Regions from separate parts of the Homo sapiens genome. Here region 1 is linked to region 2. The links are contacts of gene promoters, found by promoter capture Hi-C in blood cells and fetal thymus (Javierre and others, 2016). All regions are on one chromosome and are shown on one strand. Each heading gives the region's core, a stretch centred on a gene start or on the middle of the fragment in contact. The rest is flanking DNA. Distances are from core to core; before and after follow the strand shown.

Evidence for each region. The method cuts DNA at HindIII sites, captures the fragments that hold promoters and counts their contacts. A CHiCAGO score of 5 or more calls a contact.
Region 1: a fragment that was not itself captured here is called in contact with the fragment with the promoter of CLLU1 in region 2 in 2 of 17 cell types (naive B cells and total B cells); the score reaches 5.3 in naive B cells.

Annotation. Positions count from the first base shown.
Region 1 is chr12:92,175,512-92,179,682 of GRCh38, forward strand. The region is part of intron 2 of BTG1-DT (BTG1 divergent transcript); the gene reads left to right. Among named protein-coding and RNA genes, the nearest start is that of BTG1-DT, 32 kb to the left of the region's middle. The HindIII fragment of the contact is 3,695 bases long and covers 602-4,171 here.
Region 2 is chr12:92,420,058-92,424,249 of GRCh38, forward strand. It overlaps CLLU1 (chronic lymphocytic leukemia up-regulated 1), which reads left to right and starts at 1,474. Exons shown (of 2, transcript NR_027933.1): 1 at 1,474-1,778. CLLU1-AS1 (CLLU1 antisense RNA 1) reads right to left here. Exons shown (of 3, transcript NR_144319.2): 2 at 957-1,116; 3 at 29-403. The HindIII fragment of the contact is 1,184 bases long and covers 361-1,544 here.

The DNA of each region.
Region 1 (4,171 bases), core at 1,199-3,698, 240 kb before region 2:
TTGCTTTTTTTGGTAGAGATAGGGGCTCATTATGTTGCCCAGGCTAGTCTCGAACTCTTGGGCTCAAGCAATCCTACTGCGCTGGCCTCCCAAAGTGCTGGAATTATAGGCATTAGTCACTGTGCTCAACCTTTTCGCTAATTCTTTTTGCTTTTCCAATCTGCAGGTTTTCACTTTAGGTAGATAAGCAATAAGTGTTTTTGAACGAAGCAATTCTTTCCTTAAACATAACCCCCTTTCCAGTGCGTTTACAAGGTTCTTAACAATTATTGGCTTTATTTTGTAAGAAAATCATGACACTTGCCTATTTCTTAAGAAAAAATCAGGGATATTTGTGTAGCCATCAAAGTGAGAAAATATCCAAGTTTGAGTGAAACCAGAGTCATTAAATTGTGACTACCCAGTCCACAGGAGTTCACAGACGCAAATTACCTACTTGGATGAATCTGTCCCCAGGATAATTTTCAAAACACTGAGCTCAATTCAACCAACAAGCTAATCAGAAGAGATCCACCTTGAAAGAAAAAAGTCAGGCAGCAGCCTTCCAAGGACTTTTTTCTATAACCCTCTCAGCAAGGGAGTGAGGACCTTTTAAGAATTAAGCTTTGTAACTGCCCTATTGTTATTTGTGGACTCCCTCTGCTATTGTTTCCTCCATAGTGATTGACAGACAAACCCCTAAAATGAGAAGGATCAGTGCGTCTGTCTGTAGAGAGTGACAGCGTTGAAGCAAGACATTCAGAAGCCAGCCTGACACAAAGGGGACAAGAACAACTGCCACCCCAGCCCCCATCTCATTCCAACCCAAGAGACGGTGAGTCTGAGTCTAAAGAGAGTATGAGGGTCCAGGTGTGGTGGCTGACGCTCCTAATCCCAGCACTTTGTAAGGCAGGAGGATTATTTGAGGCCAGGAGTTTGAGATTAACCTGGGCAAAATAGTCAGACTCTGTCTCTACAGAAAAAAAAAGAAAAAAAAATTAGCCAGTGATACAGGAGTTAAGAAGAAATCATTTTGGCAGATAGTGAGAGTACGGGAGTCCCTGATAAGGTTTTCCTTTTAAAGAAAAGCAGCCCCCAGATCATTTCTTTTCTAACAAAGCAGCCTGTAAAATCGAGCTGCAGACATAGACAAGTAAGCTGATTGCACAGGTGAATGCCCTGGCAGTTGTGACAACAGGAAAAGGCTACCTGGGACTACGCATGATCAACATGGCGGCTCCATCTTTCCTTCTCTTTGCTAGCCACATGTGCAGTAAGGAGCAGATGAGATGGTGCTGGCTAAGCGGAAAGCCCATTTACATAATAAGATTAGGGTGGGGCGACCAGCCTTCCCTGCGCTATGTAAGGGACACCCCTGGTCAAACCAATCCATGGGCCCTACGTAAATCCGATACTGCCTCCTCAAGCCTGCCTATAAAATGTGCTGTGGTCTGCCATAGGCCAGCTTTTCCCTTTCGGATGCCCCTCTGTCGAGAGAGAGAGGGAGAGAGGGAGAACCACAACGCTACTTTTCTCTCTCCTCTCTCCTTTCTTCTGCCTATTAAACTTTCCGCTCCTTAACCCACCCACGTGTGTCCATGTCCTTAATCTTCTTGGCAAACCGCGGGTACCTACGCCCAGACTATGACGTCGCTTCATTAGGTGTGGTGAGAGGTGCCTGTAGTTCTAGCTACTCAGGAGGCTGAGGCAGGAAGATCCCTGAGCCCAGGAGTTTGAGGCTGCAGTGATCTATGATCACGTCAGTGCACCCCAACCTGGGTAACAGAGAGAGACCTTGTCCTCACAAACAAACAAACAAAAGGAATAAAGAGAATGGAGGAATAGATTTGGCTCTTGAGGGAAGGGAGGCTGAGGAAGGGAAATGTGAATTCATTTGTACATATACAAATCCATTTGCATGTATACGTACTTTGGGAAGTAGGGTACATATCTTCTATTGTATTTTTAAACTTTTAATTTTTTGTACTTTTTTCACTTTTATTTTACTTTGAACCCTGAGAAGCTACATATTTTAAAGAATTTTAAAGATGGCCTTGTCTGAAAGTTGGACAGGTAAAATGACTTTGAAGAAACAGTTGGAGGCCCAGCACAGTGGGCACACCTATAATGCTAATATAGTATTTGTTGGGAAGCCAAGTCATGAGGATTGTTTGAGGCCAAGAGTTCAAGACCAGCCTGGGCAACATAGTAAGACCCTATCTCTATTTTTTTTTTCTTCGAGATGGGGTCTCACTCTGTCACCCAGGCTGGAGTGCAGGGGCGCTATCTCAGCTCACTGCAACCTCTACCTCCTGGTTTCAAGCTATTCTCCTGTCTCAGCCTCCCGAGTAGCTAAGAATACAGGTGCCCCACCACCACACATGGCCAAGTTTTGTGTTTTTAGTAGAAATGGGGTTTCACCATGTCGGCCAGGCTGGTCTGCCCACCTTGGCCTCCCAAAATGTTGGGATTACAGGTGTGAGCCACTGCACCCAGATCCTATCTCTGTTTTAAAATAGAAAAAGAAATAGTTGGAAAAAACTTGCTTCTTTTTCTAAGCAATAAGATGTCATGGTAGCATATTTTTTTCATGACAATCCTATTGGTTCCTTACCATTTCCTAATTCTTAAAGGAATAAAACATTAAATTTTAAATAAATAAACTTTTTGAAGTACATTGAAAATCTTTCTGTTCTCTTTGCTTATTCAGACTCATTTTATATAGCAAAGGGAAATAAGAAGATAATGAAAAATTTACCTACTTTACACTTTCACTCATGGTCAAGACCCCTCTGTTTACCTATGTCAGATTAATAATTGCTCCTTAGTAAATACCAAGGCCTTCTGAAAACAAAGACATCCTCAATACAGCTTCAGAGCCTGGCTCTGGGGTGAAGCAGCTTTAGAACATACCAACAGTATTTGTTGTAGAAATATAATAGAATCCTTGTGACATACTTTGCTCATGTGCTTTTCTGTCTGAGGACAAAACCTCTATCACAGAAAACATAACACCTACACTCACCAAGAATCTAGGTGTGATGGGAGGGGAGGTGGAGGTGAACTTCACAAAGTCTAGAGATCACCCATTTCACACATTCCAAGAGCTGAAAATAAGTGTTCTTGCACCTCCAAAGTTATTCTCACAAAACGAGGTGCAATGATAAGTTAACATCTAGGTTTCAGTTACCACTTAGCTGCAGGGGAGTTTTAGAAATTATTACACTGATGAAATTAGATTTAATAAAATATTTCTTTTAAAAAGAAGCCTTAAAGAGAGCCTATATATTGCCATGTGTCATGGCAACCTGTGATCAATTAAGCAAATAACTTAGAGATCAGTGACCTTTTGTTCCAGTGAATTGGTAATCATAAATGTATATACATTTTGCAATACAGTCTCCTCTTTTAAAATATATGCATTTTTTCATAAGCAGAAGACTCAAATGTTCTTTTTTTAATGCAATGCTACAGTGCAGGATTTTAATCTGTTATGCATTGATATCCATGTGTCTGAAATGCTGGATGCAACTCTATTTGAAGCAAGGCGTTGGGCACTCAAGAGACCATCTTCTGTTTAATCTAGAGGGTGAGAATGGCCTGTCCAACCAAGTCTGTGTCCTTCTTTCTCCCTTATACTTTCATTTTGCTCCTGTACCTTTGAATAGATGCGTAAAGAACTTGTGAGAACTATAAGTTTTATCTGCTTCAGCAAGTTCTCCCTATGCAGGGCATGGTGGCTCACACCTGTAATCCCAACACTTTGAGAGGCTGAGGCTGGTGGATCCCTTGAGCTCAGGAGTTTGAGACCAGCCTGGACAACATGACAAAATCATGTTTCTACACAAAATACAAAAATTAGCAGGACATGGTGATGCGTGCCTGTAGTCCCAGCTACTCAGGAGGCTGAGGTGGGAGGATCAATTGAGCCCTGGAGGAAGAGGTTGCAGTGAGCCCAGATGCTGCCACTGTACTCCAGCCCAGGCAACAGTGCAAGATCCTATCTCAATAAAAAGAAGGAAAGAAAGTGCTCCCTCATCACCCAAGATAATGCACTTTTTCCCCCCTCTTTGTTACTATAGCTCCAGAGGATCCATTTAATATGCACCTTTCTAAAAATATTGCAAACTCTTTAATAAAGTAATCTTCTTTGTGCCCCCATGACCTGGCTCTGTATGGGACACACAATAGA
Region 2 (4,192 bases), core at 224-2,723:
GAATAGCAGAGTCAAACTTAAAAGCACCTGAAATTTAAAACAAAAACCAATTTACATTTTATTTAAGAAAAGCAAACAGATGGGCCTGCTAACAATGTCAAAGTCTCGTTTACAAAGAAAAAAACAAATCTGGAACCTGAAGTCAAACGAGTTCAAAATAAAAAGCAAACCAATAAACAGAAACCAACATAAACAGAAGTTACTACCATCTCCCTCAGCCTGTGAAATTCTGGAACTTCTCTTTCTTTCTCGCCTTCTTCTTCTCTCACCTGGAAGACGAGCAGAGTGAACACATCAGGGGTTGTCAGTTCCCCAGATGGCACCACATTCATAAACCACCGACTCCAGGAGAATGTAGGAAGCTTAGTTAAGGCCAAAGTTCTCTTTGGATCTTCCTCATGGGCTTCAAGGCAAAAGAAAAAAAAGTTTGCTTGAGAATATCTTCATATCTATTAGTTTGAACCATGCAAAATTACAGTTTTTATAGGTAAAATGAGTGCATATTGGCAATTTCAAATGATTAACCCTAATACATTATGCTTTTGGGTATAGAAATATTCAGATCTTAAACATATGCTGTTACATACAAAATCAGGTATATTCCTGCTTCTATAATTAAAGCAAAGAGAATTTCTTTTGGTCACTACTCCTTCTGACATGAGGTATGAACCAAGTTCAGGACCCCTAAAGGTCTGGGTCTGGGTCATTTCTCCACCTCTAACTTGTGCCGCTTTCTTGGTCAGTCATTGTGTTCTGAGCTGTCTCATAAAACATCTGCTATGACTTTACTTTCTCCTGATAGGGTGGCTTTCCATCGTTGGCACTTCGTTGGCCTTATTGGTATGCTTTATACACTGGTTCTCGTTTCCAAATTGGCATTATTATTGTTATGATTCCTGCTGCTCTCCCACATTTCCCATCTTTCTCCTGATCTCTCTCACCTGTACATTTCTTACATTTTCTCCTGTGCTTCCTTCTTCCCATCATCATTGCCCAAGTGTGTCTTCTTTCTTCTCCTTGTCACATTTCCTTTGCCCGCTCTCACATATGCAGAGATGGCTCTTGGTTTTCCTTCTGAAATCTCATAGTTTGGAGGTAAACTTGTTAGCAAGGCCACTGAGAAGAGAACAAAAGGGAAACATAAGAGAAACCAAGTCACTATCTCTCTCATTTCCTGGTTTCTAGAAGTAAGACCCAAAGAACTCACTGTTTCAGTGCTTTCAGCTCAGGCCAAACTAGGGTGATCAAACTGAGCTTCTGAGTGCTGATCAAAACCTATAAAACCAAGTAGACAGACCATCTACAAATCTTCACTGTTAAATACCATAAAGAATGAAAAGGTCACTAATTGGTAAGACTATATGTGTGATAATTAAATTTATGCATCAACCTGGCTAGGCTAAAGGATGACCAGGTAGCTGGTAAAACATTATTCTGGGTGTGTCCATAAGAGTGTTTTCGGAAGAGATCAGCATTTGAATTGGTGAACTTAGTAAAGCAGACGGCTCTCACCAATAAGGGCAGGCATCATCCAATCTGTCGAAAGCTTGAATAAAACAAAAAGAGGAAGGGAAAATTTGCTTCTTTTCTTCTTGATCTAGTATATCATCTTCTCCTGCCCTTGGATGTGAGTGGGCCTTCAGACTTAAACCAGGAGTTACACCTTTGGCTTCCCTGGTTCTCAGTTCTTTGGACTTGGACTGAATTACACTGCCAGGTTTCCTGGTTCTCCAGCTTGCAGATGGCAGATCATGGGACTTCTTGGCCTCCATAATTGTGTGAGTCAATTTCCATTTTATTTACATATCCAGTTATGCATTGCTTAACAATGGAGACAGGTTCTGAGAAATGCATTGTTAAGTGATTTCATCATTGTGCAAACATCATAGAGTGTAACTACACAAACCTGGACAGCATAGACTACTACACATCTAGGCTACATGGTGTAGCTTGTAACCTCATGATAAGTATGTATAACATCATGATAAGTATGTATGTATCTACCATATCTAAATGTAGAAAAGGTACAGTAAAAATATGGTATAATCTTATGGGATCACCATCATATATGCAATCCTTTGTAGACTGAAATGTCATTGTGTAGTGCATGACTGTATACGCACACATACACAAACACACACAAATATACTATTGGTTCTTTTTCTCTGAAGAGCCCTAATACAATATGTTATACATTTATATTGACTCTATTTCAAAATTTATGGTTTTGGTGAAACATATGTGGAGATGGGGCATAGGTGTGTGAACTGGGATAGTGTCCTGCTGATGAATGGGTGGGAGGCATCATTTGGGACAAGCCCAGGGCATCAGCTTATAGATATCAAGAGCTCAACAAGAGCACTTTATGGCAAAACCTCCCACAAGACCTCTCAGAAGTTGAGAAACTGCTAAAAGTTTCTTTATGACAGATGACATTTATGGATAAAATAGGGATTAGCAGGATTCTTTAAATACTTTCGAACACTAACCTTCATTTCTACCAGGCAGTGGGGCCCCAAGTGCAGGGCCATAGGAAGTACAAGTCTGGGAGATACTAGGCTGCACTGTCTGTAGAGAATCTGAAAAAATAATAGAGTCACTGAAATGCAGTTTGGTATAATTATTGCCATGCATCATAATTCTAAATCATACTAGTGGTCAAATACTCTTCCCTGAAAAAACATTTTCTTGGTTTGAATTCTAAATAATTGTTGTGGTCACCACTGAGCTTTTAAATATATAAATACTTTCAAGTTTGCATATTTTTATTACCTGTTCCTTAACAAACATTGAATTCAACATGAAAATGATTATGGGAAACATTCGGGTATACAGTCCCTGACTCTTAAGGACTCAGGTAAATACTTAGGGTATTTCATGGCCCTAGTCTTTGGGGTACCACATGTTTCTTCTTCAAATCACAGATTCAAAATCAAGAATGATAACACAGTGATTGTGTAGACAAAATAAGTGAACCAAAATTGCTTGCTTCTGTCATTCTATGGAACCACTGAGAGTTTTTACTTGTGCTTAAAATTTTGAATAGTAAAACAGAGTGTCAACTTCATGCTGGAATATTTTTGGCTTTTTAGACACAATTTTAAGTACATGAAGTATTTTTACAAGACTAAGTAACATCACTGAAATTACAGCTTTCTTCTTTTTAAAACTGGTATTTGTTATAAAACTAAAGAGCGAATCAAGAAAAGCATAATTATTACTGATTATTACAGGATTATTACTGAAAAAGAAATGTACGGAATAGAGGAGGAAGGAGTTAACAAATGATCCACTCTGGGTGTTGAAAACACCAATAAGCCTGCTTCCAGGAAGTGCCTAAGACAGAGCTGGCTCAGCTTGCTGGGTCACAGCATGTAAGGAAACTGCTGGGCTACATGCCACCATCCTCAGTTGTCCAGATAGATAATCCCATAGCCCCATGGGGAAATAATCTTTAATTATGATATAGCTGACACCATTCAAAGCACTATGCTAAGTCCTTTATGTGAATTAACTTTTGTCAAATTTATTTTTCATAAATAACCCAAATATGTATACCACTATTATCCTACCTTAAAGAGGAGAAACTGAGCTCCTAAAGTTTAAATATCTAACCCAAGTTAAGACTGCTAGTCACCCTAGGCTATTAACTCAGGCAGTCTAACTCAGGTATAATAACATTATGCTACTGTTTGCAGCTTTGACTATGCCTGAATTATAACGTCATGCTATCTAACTAAAAAGCTAAGGGAAATAAAATGAGCCATAGGGCTCAATTTCATAAAAGGAGAGAAAATACTGGGGAAAAGTGATAATGCAGAGTTTAAAATATTTTTGTAAAAGTGCCAGAGATTGAGTATAACAAGTGTGACCAAAAAAAAAAAAAAAAAAAAAAAAGGAAGAAGGTAAAAAAAAGAGGGAGGTCTGAGAAATAGAAATATCAGAGGAAGGAAATAAAGGAGGGTGAGAGTAAATTCTCTTTTAGCATTCAGATTCCACAGATTCCACAAATCACATTTCTTTTTTTACCAACTAAGGAAAAATAACACTTGACCTAACATTTCATTGCAGTTAGCTAAAGGATGCTAGAAAAACTATGTTGCAGTGGTTTGCTCTAATTTCTTCAGGAATAGAGAAAAGTGACAAAAAGATCAGAGAAGAGAAGAAAGGAAACTATCAGAAAAATACAGAA